3 separate regions of the Homo sapiens genome follow, and all the other regions are linked to region 1. Evidence: promoter capture Hi-C in human tissues and cell types (Jung and others, 2019). All regions are on one chromosome and are shown on one strand. Each heading gives the region's core, a stretch centred on a gene start or on the middle of the fragment in contact. The rest is flanking DNA. Distances are from core to core; before and after follow the strand shown. Region 1 holds the start of SUSD2 (sushi domain containing 2). Region 2 overlaps CABIN1 (calcineurin binding protein 1). Region 3 overlaps CABIN1 (calcineurin binding protein 1).

Evidence for each region. The method cuts DNA at HindIII sites, captures the fragments that hold promoters and counts their contacts. A contact is called where the count stands out against the background at its distance.
Region 2: a fragment that was not itself captured here is called in contact with the fragment with the promoter of SUSD2 in region 1 in 2 of the 25 tissues and cell types used here (dorsolateral prefrontal cortex and spleen).
Region 3: a fragment that was not itself captured here is called in contact with the fragment with the promoter of SUSD2 in region 1 in 3 of the 25 tissues and cell types used here (dorsolateral prefrontal cortex, mesendoderm cells and spleen).

What each region holds. Positions count from the first base shown.
Region 1 is chr22:24,180,103-24,183,330 of GRCh38, forward strand. SUSD2 (sushi domain containing 2) reads left to right here and starts at 1,385. Exons shown (of 15, transcript NM_019601.4): 1 at 1,385-1,493; 2 at 2,955-3,165. The coding sequence starts at 1,418. The HindIII fragment of the contact is 36,064 bases long and covers 1-3,228 here.
Region 2 is chr22:24,144,384-24,147,427 of GRCh38, forward strand. The region is part of intron 29 of CABIN1 (calcineurin binding protein 1); the gene reads left to right. Among named protein-coding and RNA genes, the nearest start is that of SUSD2, 36 kb to the right of the region's middle. RefSeq lists enhancers at 1-502, 503-1,238, 1,855-2,074, 1,939-2,233. The HindIII fragment of the contact is 6,827 bases long and covers 1-3,044 here.
Region 3 is chr22:24,127,298-24,130,086 of GRCh38, forward strand. All of the region lies in intron 28 of CABIN1 (calcineurin binding protein 1), which reads left to right. Among named protein-coding and RNA genes, the nearest start is that of SUSD2, 53 kb to the right of the region's middle. The HindIII fragment of the contact is 5,404 bases long and covers 1-2,789 here.

The DNA of each region.
Region 1 (3,228 bases), core at 135-2,634:
TCAGCACCTGAGCGTCCACTTACAGGACACTCACCTGCAGAGGTGCCCTGAGCGCCATTGTGGGTTAAGGGACTTTCTCCCCTCTGGAGACAGTCCCTGAGAAGCTGAAGGTCTTGGGGGCCTCTCACCAAATGTCTTTGGGAGGTGGGAAAACATCAAATGCGGGTGTGGCTTCCCTGGAACAGCTCTGTGTGGGGACTCAGGAGCCAAGTCCCCCAGCACACGCCTCTAACACTTTCAGTAGGGGCCACCTCTCTGGAGCCACGGGTGGCTGCCAACACCCTGTGGTTCCCAGCAGGCACCACCCAGGCAAGAGAGAGAACAGGCCGGGGAACAATGGGCTGGCCTGGCCGCAAGCGCTGGGGCAGATCACAGACCGGATGGCCTAAGCTCATGCCCTGGGGCCACCTCTGACTCCCTGCAAGTGTGGCAAGGGTCCCTTTTGGACACCTTGAGAAGCTGCAGCTGGGAGAGGACCACCCGCCTGTCTGGATGTCCAGCCCAGGTGTCAGGGTCCAAATGACCAGTCCCAGGCCGCAGCCCTTACCACCCGCCCTGGCTGCAGGGGCTCCCAGAAGCCACCAAGGGCCTGGCTCGGCCTTGCCTATCCGCATCTGAGCTTCAGTTTCCTCATCTGCTCAAGAAGGGAGGTGAATACTGATTAAATTATGCAAACTCTTAGCGGCAGGATTAGGTGTGGCTGGGACAGCCAAGGCTCCCCAGGGTGGTGGCATCTCTGGAGCCCGGGGATGGGCCCTGTCTCCCTTCCGGGCCCCCCGCTGGGCTTGGGTACCTTCTCTCCCCTTCCTCCTTCCTCCCTCCAGAGGGGACCCCTGCAGAGCTGCCTCCGCCCCAGGGCTCAGCCTGTGTCTGACCCAAACAGCTCCTGCCTCCCCCTGAGGATGAGTTGGGTGCACCTCCTTCCTGCAGGAAGATGAGGGCTAGAGATGGAGGTCTATGTCAGGGCCACAGAGTCTGGAATCCTCCCTGGAGCTAAAACAGCCCTGCCTTATTCACCCTGCGCATCCCATCCTCTGCTTCAGCCCCGCCGGGCTCGCCCTGCATGCAAGGCGGGGCTGGGACCCAGGGTCTGAGCTTCGCCCTCTGGACATCCGGCTCATCGCCTGCCAAAGGTCCTGTGGCTGGAGGCTCCGGCCTCCTCACCCTCCCACAGGGTCCCAGGGCCGATCCAGGCCTGCGGGCCAGGAATGTGCTAACGGGGCAACTTGGGCCTTGCTGGTCCACGCAGGCACCTGTGGACTTTGAGAGGGGACTGGGTGGGGAGGGGCGGGGAGGGGCGGGGCGGGGCGGTGCCGCAGAGTGCAGGGCGGGCGGGGCCAGGCCAGCAGGGAGTGAGCTTGTCTGGCCGCCTCGCCTCGGAGCCACTGCACTGCTGGCTGCAGACACAGGCTGCACCATGAAGCCAGCCCTCCTGCCCTGGGCCCTGCTGCTGCTGGCGACAGCCCTCGGCCCGGGCCCCGGACCCACAGCAGGTATGCCTCCCTGCCCTTCTGTGTCCCCGTCTGTCTGTCCATCTGTCTGCAGCCAGGCCTGGGCTGACATCCCTCTGGGCTCAGCCTCTGTCCATCTGTCAGGCCATCTGTGGCTGTGCTAGGGGTGATGGGAAGAAATTCTGAGGGTCCATGTGGAGGGGCAGCCCATGGGGATGGGAGGTCTGAGCCGGGCCCACCCTAAACCTGCTGGTAGCTAGGAGGGAGGCGGGGGAGACCAGCAGAGGCCTCCGCCTGTGTCCCCAGCCCTGACAGGGCGGGATCACGGAGGGGGAGCCAGGATTGTGGGTCCTCATCAGGGTGGGGCTGAATCCAGGAAAGTCTAGGGAAAGCCCCGAACTCCAGAACCAGGACACTGGTCCCAGGCTGCCCCCCGTCCCCCACCCCATTTCCCATCGACCCTCTTGCCACTTATCTCACTTGCAAGCATCTCTCGGCCTCCTCCCCCGACCCCTGTGCGCCACCAAATCCTTGGCCAGTACATATTTATTGTTGCTTTTAAGTGCCAGGCACTGCACTTGGTGAAGTGGGGCCAGCGGGGTGGCTCAGGCCCAGGCCTGGCCCTCGACTGGCCTCTTTTGATGGGGGATGGGGAAGGGCCAGGGAAGTGCAATTCCAGCCTGGGTGCATGCACCTGCCCCAGTCCCTCCCTGCAACCCTTCCTTCATGCCAGCCCCTGGAAATATGGCCTTGCCCACCGGTCTTATGGCCCATAGGAGAAGTTTTGGGCCCGGCGCCCACAGCCCCTTGTGGTGTGCACCCCCACTTCCCTTTCCCCACTGCTGGGACCCCTGCTTGAAATGTCCCTCCTCTCCCCAGAAAGGAGGGGAGCGGCCCTGGCCTTCTGCCCTGAGCACGGAGCTCTCTTTGGGGTCTCAATTGCAGCCCCTGGGAGAGCGAGAAGTGTCACGTTCAGACCCTGCACCATTCCCTACCAGGCCTCAAATGAGACTCTTGGCAGCCATATCCCCCACCCCAGTCCAGGCAAGCAAGAGGGGTTCTTCTGCAGGCTTCAGGGCCCCCAGAAGGCGTGCTGACCACAGACACCCTGGGGAGCCAAGAGAGGTCGAGGGCTCCAGCTACCGTGGCCCACTGAGGACCCCTGCCTGTGGGATAGAGGACTTGGTGGCTGAAGGGCAGTCATGCCCAGGGGCTTCTCCTGACCCTGCAGGGCTGAGCGGATGCAGCTTTTTGCCTCTTCTCGCTGCATTCTAGCCCGTCAGTCAGGGCAACAGCCAGATGGTCTGTGCTAAGATTCATCCCATCCCCACGGGCCCTGTGGCTTTCTACTGTGTCCACCTGGTGGCCTGTGCAGTTCCTGGCCAGCGTTCTCCTGGGGATGCTGCTGTCTAATGGGCTGTGGGAGAAACAGAGACAGGCCCTGCACATGGGGCAGCCAGTCCAGTACCCGCCGGGCCAGGCCCTCAGCATCCTCTCCTCCAGATGCCCAAGAGAGCTGCTCCATGCGCTGTGGCGCCCTGGACGGGCCATGTTCCTGCCACCCGACGTGCTCTGGCCTTGGCACCTGCTGCTTGGATTTCCGGGACTTCTGCCTGGAGATATTGCCCTACTCAGGATCCATGATGGGCGGCAAGGACTTTGTGGTGCGGCACTTCAAGATGTCCAGCCCCACAGACGCCAGTGTGATCTGCAGGTTGGGAGGCCCAGGAGGCCGGGCACTGGGGCCCCACGCCCCCATCCCTGTGCATGCTGAGGG
Region 2 (3,044 bases), core at 443-2,942, 35 kb before region 1:
GGTGGTGAAGCATTCTGCCCAGCCCTTGGTCACCTGATGGTGCATGTCATCTTCCACTAAGCCATTAGAGAGGCCCACTCTCAAGGGGTGCCCAGGTCCCTAGGGGAGATGATCAGGTAAACAGAGCACATGATCCAGCAGCCATGGAACCCAGAGCTCACAGTGTCTTTTGAGAAGGCCTGTGGTAGATGGGAAGATCATGGGCACAGGGGCAGCTGGGCTGCACTGGCCCCAATTTGTAGAAACCACAAGTAAATCTCCTCCACATTTGACTTCCCTCTTTGGGGCCTCACCTGGCACTCTGTTGCCCCTCCTGCCCACCTCTCCCTCAAGGCCATCCTAGGCCTGTTCAGACTGTTGGTGGAGGCCATTTCCAGTCAGGGCTTTCCTGCCAGGTGTTGCTGTGCTCCGTGTTGCTGTGCTCAATGTGACTGCACAGCCCAGCCTTCCCCAAGCTTATCTCCAGCCCTGCCCAGGCTAGTGTTGGATCCTGCCTGAGCCCCTATGGGAGTCACTTTTGCACATGTGCTTTTGGAGACAGGCCTGCCCCTCCTGGAGCACAGGCCCCATCACCTAAGTGAGCAGACAGTGTGAGAATGACAGGAGAGTGACGTTAGAGGACATGCCTGTGAAGGACAGAACAGGGCCAGGCTTCTGAGCAGAAGATGCAGCATGAGGCACAGTGTGGGGCACAGACAGTGCCACATGCACATCAGGGAGGGCCTCGCAGAGTTGCATGCTATACGCAGTGGTGGGTGGCCAGCTGGCCACCACTGGACCCTGTTTTCCTGGGCCAGGTGCAGTTTGGTCTTTCTCACAAAGAAAGGGGGACTGAATTGAGGAGCGTCTTCCAGGTGTTGCACTAGCTGCCCTGAATGCACTGGAGGGGCTGGGCTGGGGCTGGGGCTGGGGCAGAGGCAGCAGGAGCACTGTCAACCCACCATTCCTCAGGGCTCCAAAGTGCTGTGTTTGGCACTTCTACATACAATGGCTTGTTGAATTCTCATAATTCATGAGATGTAGGTAGTGCCATTGTCCCTGCCTCGCAAATTAAGAAAACGAGACAGGCACACAGCAAGTTTGCACCTGAGCCAGGATTTAGGTGTTCTGAGCCAGGACCCAGACTGCCTGTGGACTGATGGGATGAGGGGAAGCGGAGTACAAGAGGGCCGAGGAGGTGGGCTTGGGGGACCTGGTGCTCAGCCCTGGCACTCTGATGCTCAGATCTGTCGTCCCGTGTGTCTCTGCCTGGTGTGCCAGGCATGTGGCCCTGGGTCTGCGTGCATGCATATGTCTGTCCTCCAATGGACAGGGCGCTAGGATGCCTCTGAGGGCAAGCAGTGTCCTCAGTGGAGGATGGACGCAACACAGTAGAGATGCCACTCAAGGCCGTGCTAGGATGGAAGGGTGCTGCTTATTATCCCACTCTTTCCCCAAGGGTAGTCTCAGCTCCTAATGCGCAATGTCATCTGGTTTTCAGAAGAAATTGGGATTGATTGTGGCTTTTCCTGGGGTATCCCCATGATAACAAGTCACCAGTGGCTGTAGACATCCCACCCTGGCTGGTGAGGAAATGGGCTGGGCTTCTGCCTCTGGCTCTGCCCTTGGCTGTGACCTAGGCAGGTCATCTGGCCTCTCTGAGTACCTCCTCTATCACTAAGATTAACTGAGGTATGCAGCAGCCCTTAGGACTGTCAGGGGATCAAAGGAAACCCAGTCACATAACAGTGGGAATCATAGGACAGAAAAGAAAGAAAAAAGTTTAAATTGAGGAAATAAGAGCTACTTGGCTGTAGTAGGAATTGCTGCACTAGCACTATTTTTAGCATTGCTGAGATGATCTATGGGCCAGTTGCACAAGCAGAGTAAACAAAAGAAACACTTCAAGTTCTCCAGGGAAAAAAGGTCCTGTTTTTAAGAGTCTTAAAAGAGTTAGCAAACTTGTGTGGATTCTAAATGTATCCCCGAGCTCTCCTTCCTTCCCACATCCTGGGCTCTGCAAGCTTTGTGGAACTTCACAGCTTCCGGCTTGCACAGCCCCCGTGTTCAGCCTGGAGCAGGTCTGAAGGCCGCCCTGTCTGGGGAGGGGCAAGCCTGAGAGGCAGCAGGTGGAGAGGGGGTGCTTCCTGCCTGAGAAGCTACAGTGTGTCCTCACCAGTAGGAGAGGTCAGTAGGAGGAAGTACACACAGAGGAGTGGCAGGGACAAGGCCACAGGTTACCCAGGCCCCTGCCCTGACAGGACCACAGCAAAAGCCAGGCCACCTGCATTCACAGTTAGAATTTTTAAAAAAATAATTAAATAAATAAAATGTAAGCAGCCTTTAGACCATCGTTCCTGGTATAAATTATTTTCTGGCTATCCGGAGACAGTTTTCATCTCCAGATGTGGATTCAAAATTCTGGCAAAGCCAGGATGCTTGGGCAGAGGAAGATGATCTTGTTAAGCCCTTAGCATTCATGATCCCATGGAATCCCCATGACCATCCTGCTAGGAGGTGCAGAATCTCTGCAGACAGCGCACTCATGACTTGCCTAAGGTCATATAGCCAGTAAGTGGCAGAGCCCAGACTGGGAACCCATGTCCCTTGGGCCAGCCTCCATGCCGGAGTTTCTGCCCAGCCTATCAGAAGCAGCTGCTATTTTTTCCCTAGTGGGATGCCAGTGTTTGTATATACATCCACCACCTCAGCCCACAGCCCCCTCTGCCCCCAGCTGCCCTGGGTATTCAGTCAGGAGCTCGCTGTTTAACATTCCTGAATAGAGGAGCATTTTTCAGCATGAACTTCATTTCCCACCACAAGTTATTTTTCAGAGGTTTGTTCTTGGAATGTATCCCAGCAGCACCTCCCTCCCTCCCTCTCTCCCTGCCTCCCTCCCTCCGTCCCTGCCTCCCTCCCTCCCTCCCTGCCTCCCTGCCTCTCTGCCTCCCTCCCTCCCTCCCTCCTCTCCTCCCTCCCTCCCTGCCTCCCTCCCTCCCTGCTTCCCTGCCTCCCTCCCTCCGTTCCTCCCTTCCTTCCTTCCCTCCACCTCTCCTTCCCTCCTC
Region 3 (2,789 bases), core at 70-2,569, 53 kb before region 1:
GATGGCTGCCCCTCATCAACTCCACAGGGAGGGAATTCAAGGAGTGAGTGCTCTGATCAAATTCCCTCAGTCAAACCCACCCAGTAGTCAGAGGCCCAGGAGCTTGAGAATGTGTCCACACAGGTGGAGAAGAAGTCAGTGTGGCAGCAGAGATGGGAGGAGGCCACAGCAGGATATCAGGAAGTAGTCTGATTCTAGATGGATTCAGACAGAAGAGCTGAATCAATGGATCAGACAACATGGGAAACCTAGAGGACATAATACTAAGTGAAATAGCCAGTCACAAAAGGCAAATACTGAATGATTCCACTTAGATGAGGTATGACGAGTAGCAGCCTGGCAGCGCTAGCCCAATCAGACCCCATTTCTTTGGCCCAGGACCTGTGGGGTGTGAAGGAAAGAGAAAAGTCAAGGTCAATCCACAGATAGTCATTCATCCTGCTTCTGTTCTGATTCTCTAATGTTGTGAATCAGGTGAGAAAGTTTGCACATCTATCATCTTCAACAACTGTATTTAACTTTTCATATATATATATATATGAGTGATCTAGAACAGTTGTATATATATGAGTATATATGAATAACGTAGAACAGAGTTCCCTCCTGAGGCACTATTGACATTTGGGACCAAATAATTCTCTGTTGTGGGGATGTTGTGTGTGCACTGCAGGACTTTCAGCAATATCCCTGGTCTCTACCCACTAGATACCAGTAGCCTTCCTCTAGCTGTGATGACCAAAGATGTTTCCAGATATTGCCAGATGCCTCCTTGGGGACAGACCCCCACCCCCATTGAGAACTATTGCCATGAGTCTCCCTCCCCAGGCAACTCTCAGGAATGTTGGGTGCATTTCCTTTCCATCTTCTGCCTACTTTCTTTACACACAAACAGACACACACTCACAGAAATGTATGCAAATGTGGTTCTGCTTTTTTTTGCTTCTCGTGTACTCATAAACTCTTTGATTGCATGACTTCTAATGCCTACACAGGATTCTCGGGGCGGGGGGAGGGTGGGCACAGCTTTTACACTAACTCCTTAATATTTGGCTTTATCCAAACAGACATTCTAATTATAATTTTTCATGATTAGAAGTATCAGGAATGGTTGGCTTTAAGTCTACCAGGTCTAGCTATGGGGATATTCATGTCCTAGGTTGCTGGGGTGAGTTTGCAGTAGGTATGTGCCCGCAGCTTATGGGTGTCCCCAGCAGCCCACTGAGTCTCCCATCAGCAGGTAGCCACACACTCCTCTTCCTCTGGCCTATAGAACACTACTCCAAGGGCTCCCAGCCAATTCCCCTTCACACAGGGCAAGAGGTCCTGGGTGGCTCCAAAGGCTGCAGAAGGTCTTCCCTGGCCAAGCCCTCCACCACTCCTGTTTCCTCCATTTGTCATGGAACCCGTGAGCACCATCTGTGCCCCCGTGCCAATGCCTGAGGTATGGCTAGGTGAAGGGCTGAACACAGCTGAGGTCCATAGCCACCTTCCTGGCAGCCCTGTGGAGCCCTACTGGTCTTGCAGATAGGCTGGCACTGCTCCAGGATCCCCACCAGACAGTTTGCACACCTGGAGTCACCATGTAGGAGTTGTAGAGCCTGACCTCTCTGAGCCCCACCATCTGTCCCTTGTGGATTCGTGAGGCAGGAGGTAGTTAAGTGGTGAGTGGATCATCATCATTGGTTGTGGCAGGGAGACAGCCCCTGGGGGCAGAGACCCTGGGTGACACAGGCAGAGCACATCCTCCAGGCCACCATACAATAGTGACAGATGGCACCTGGGATCAGGTCTGCCTTACGGCTTTGCACATCTTGGGACAGCAGGTGTCCCCAGAGGGTAGTAGTTGTTTTCCCATCTCCAGCTGTCAACAGGCTTTGCCAAGCCCCCACTACATGCAGGGCCCATGGAAGGCTACAGGTAGGGATGCAAGCCACCTCACCCCAAGCTTTTGCTTCCTGTGTGAAGAGAAAGGGAGCGTGGGGAGTTCCAGGAGCTATGACAGTCAGCCCAATGTGTGCTGTAGTGAAACGATTGCTGGCAGAGTAGTGCGAGTTAGTGGGCGGGGGCTGGCATTGAAATTTAGCCTCAAGGGCATGGACTGTTGCTTAGCTGGCCCCAGGGAGCATAGTGCTGGCACCCTGGCCTTGGGAAGGACCCAAGCAGCCCCACTCACGCCCCATGGCTGTTGCCCTCCTCCCTCAACCTGACATACGCTTCCTTCCCATTTTATGAAAGGTCAGACTGCTCAGCTTCTTTTCATTCTTCCTGTGGGCAACTATTGCACCCTTTTCTGTGAGCTTCAAACTAGACTTGTCCTGGAGGAGCCATCAGTGAAGTCAGACTGTGTCCCTGCCCTTATAGGGCTGATAGAGAAGTAGGGGCAGACAGCAGACCCATCTGCGAGTCAGTGGAAAGGCTATTTAAGGTGGCCATGGGGCTGTGGGAATAGTATTCCAGGGGAGCATCAGGGGGAAAGGTGAGGTGGCACCAGGTAGAGAGACCTCCAGGGACCAAGGTGGGAACAAGTGTGGCTGGAGGGCTGTTCACAAAGAGGGGTTGGAGGGTATGGGGGAGATGAGCCAGCGGGTAGGCAGGTAGACTGAGGCATGGAGCTGACTCTTGCCCTGAGGCAGGTGCAGCCCAAAGGCCTTTAAGCAGAGGAGTTAGATGTCCCCTCTGCCTTCTGCTGTGAAGCAGGGATGGTCCAGATAGTAGGCAAGGGAGGACATAAGGTGCCTGTATGCTTCTACGATTCTTTGCCCTACTTCTCTTCAGGACCTTACAGCCCT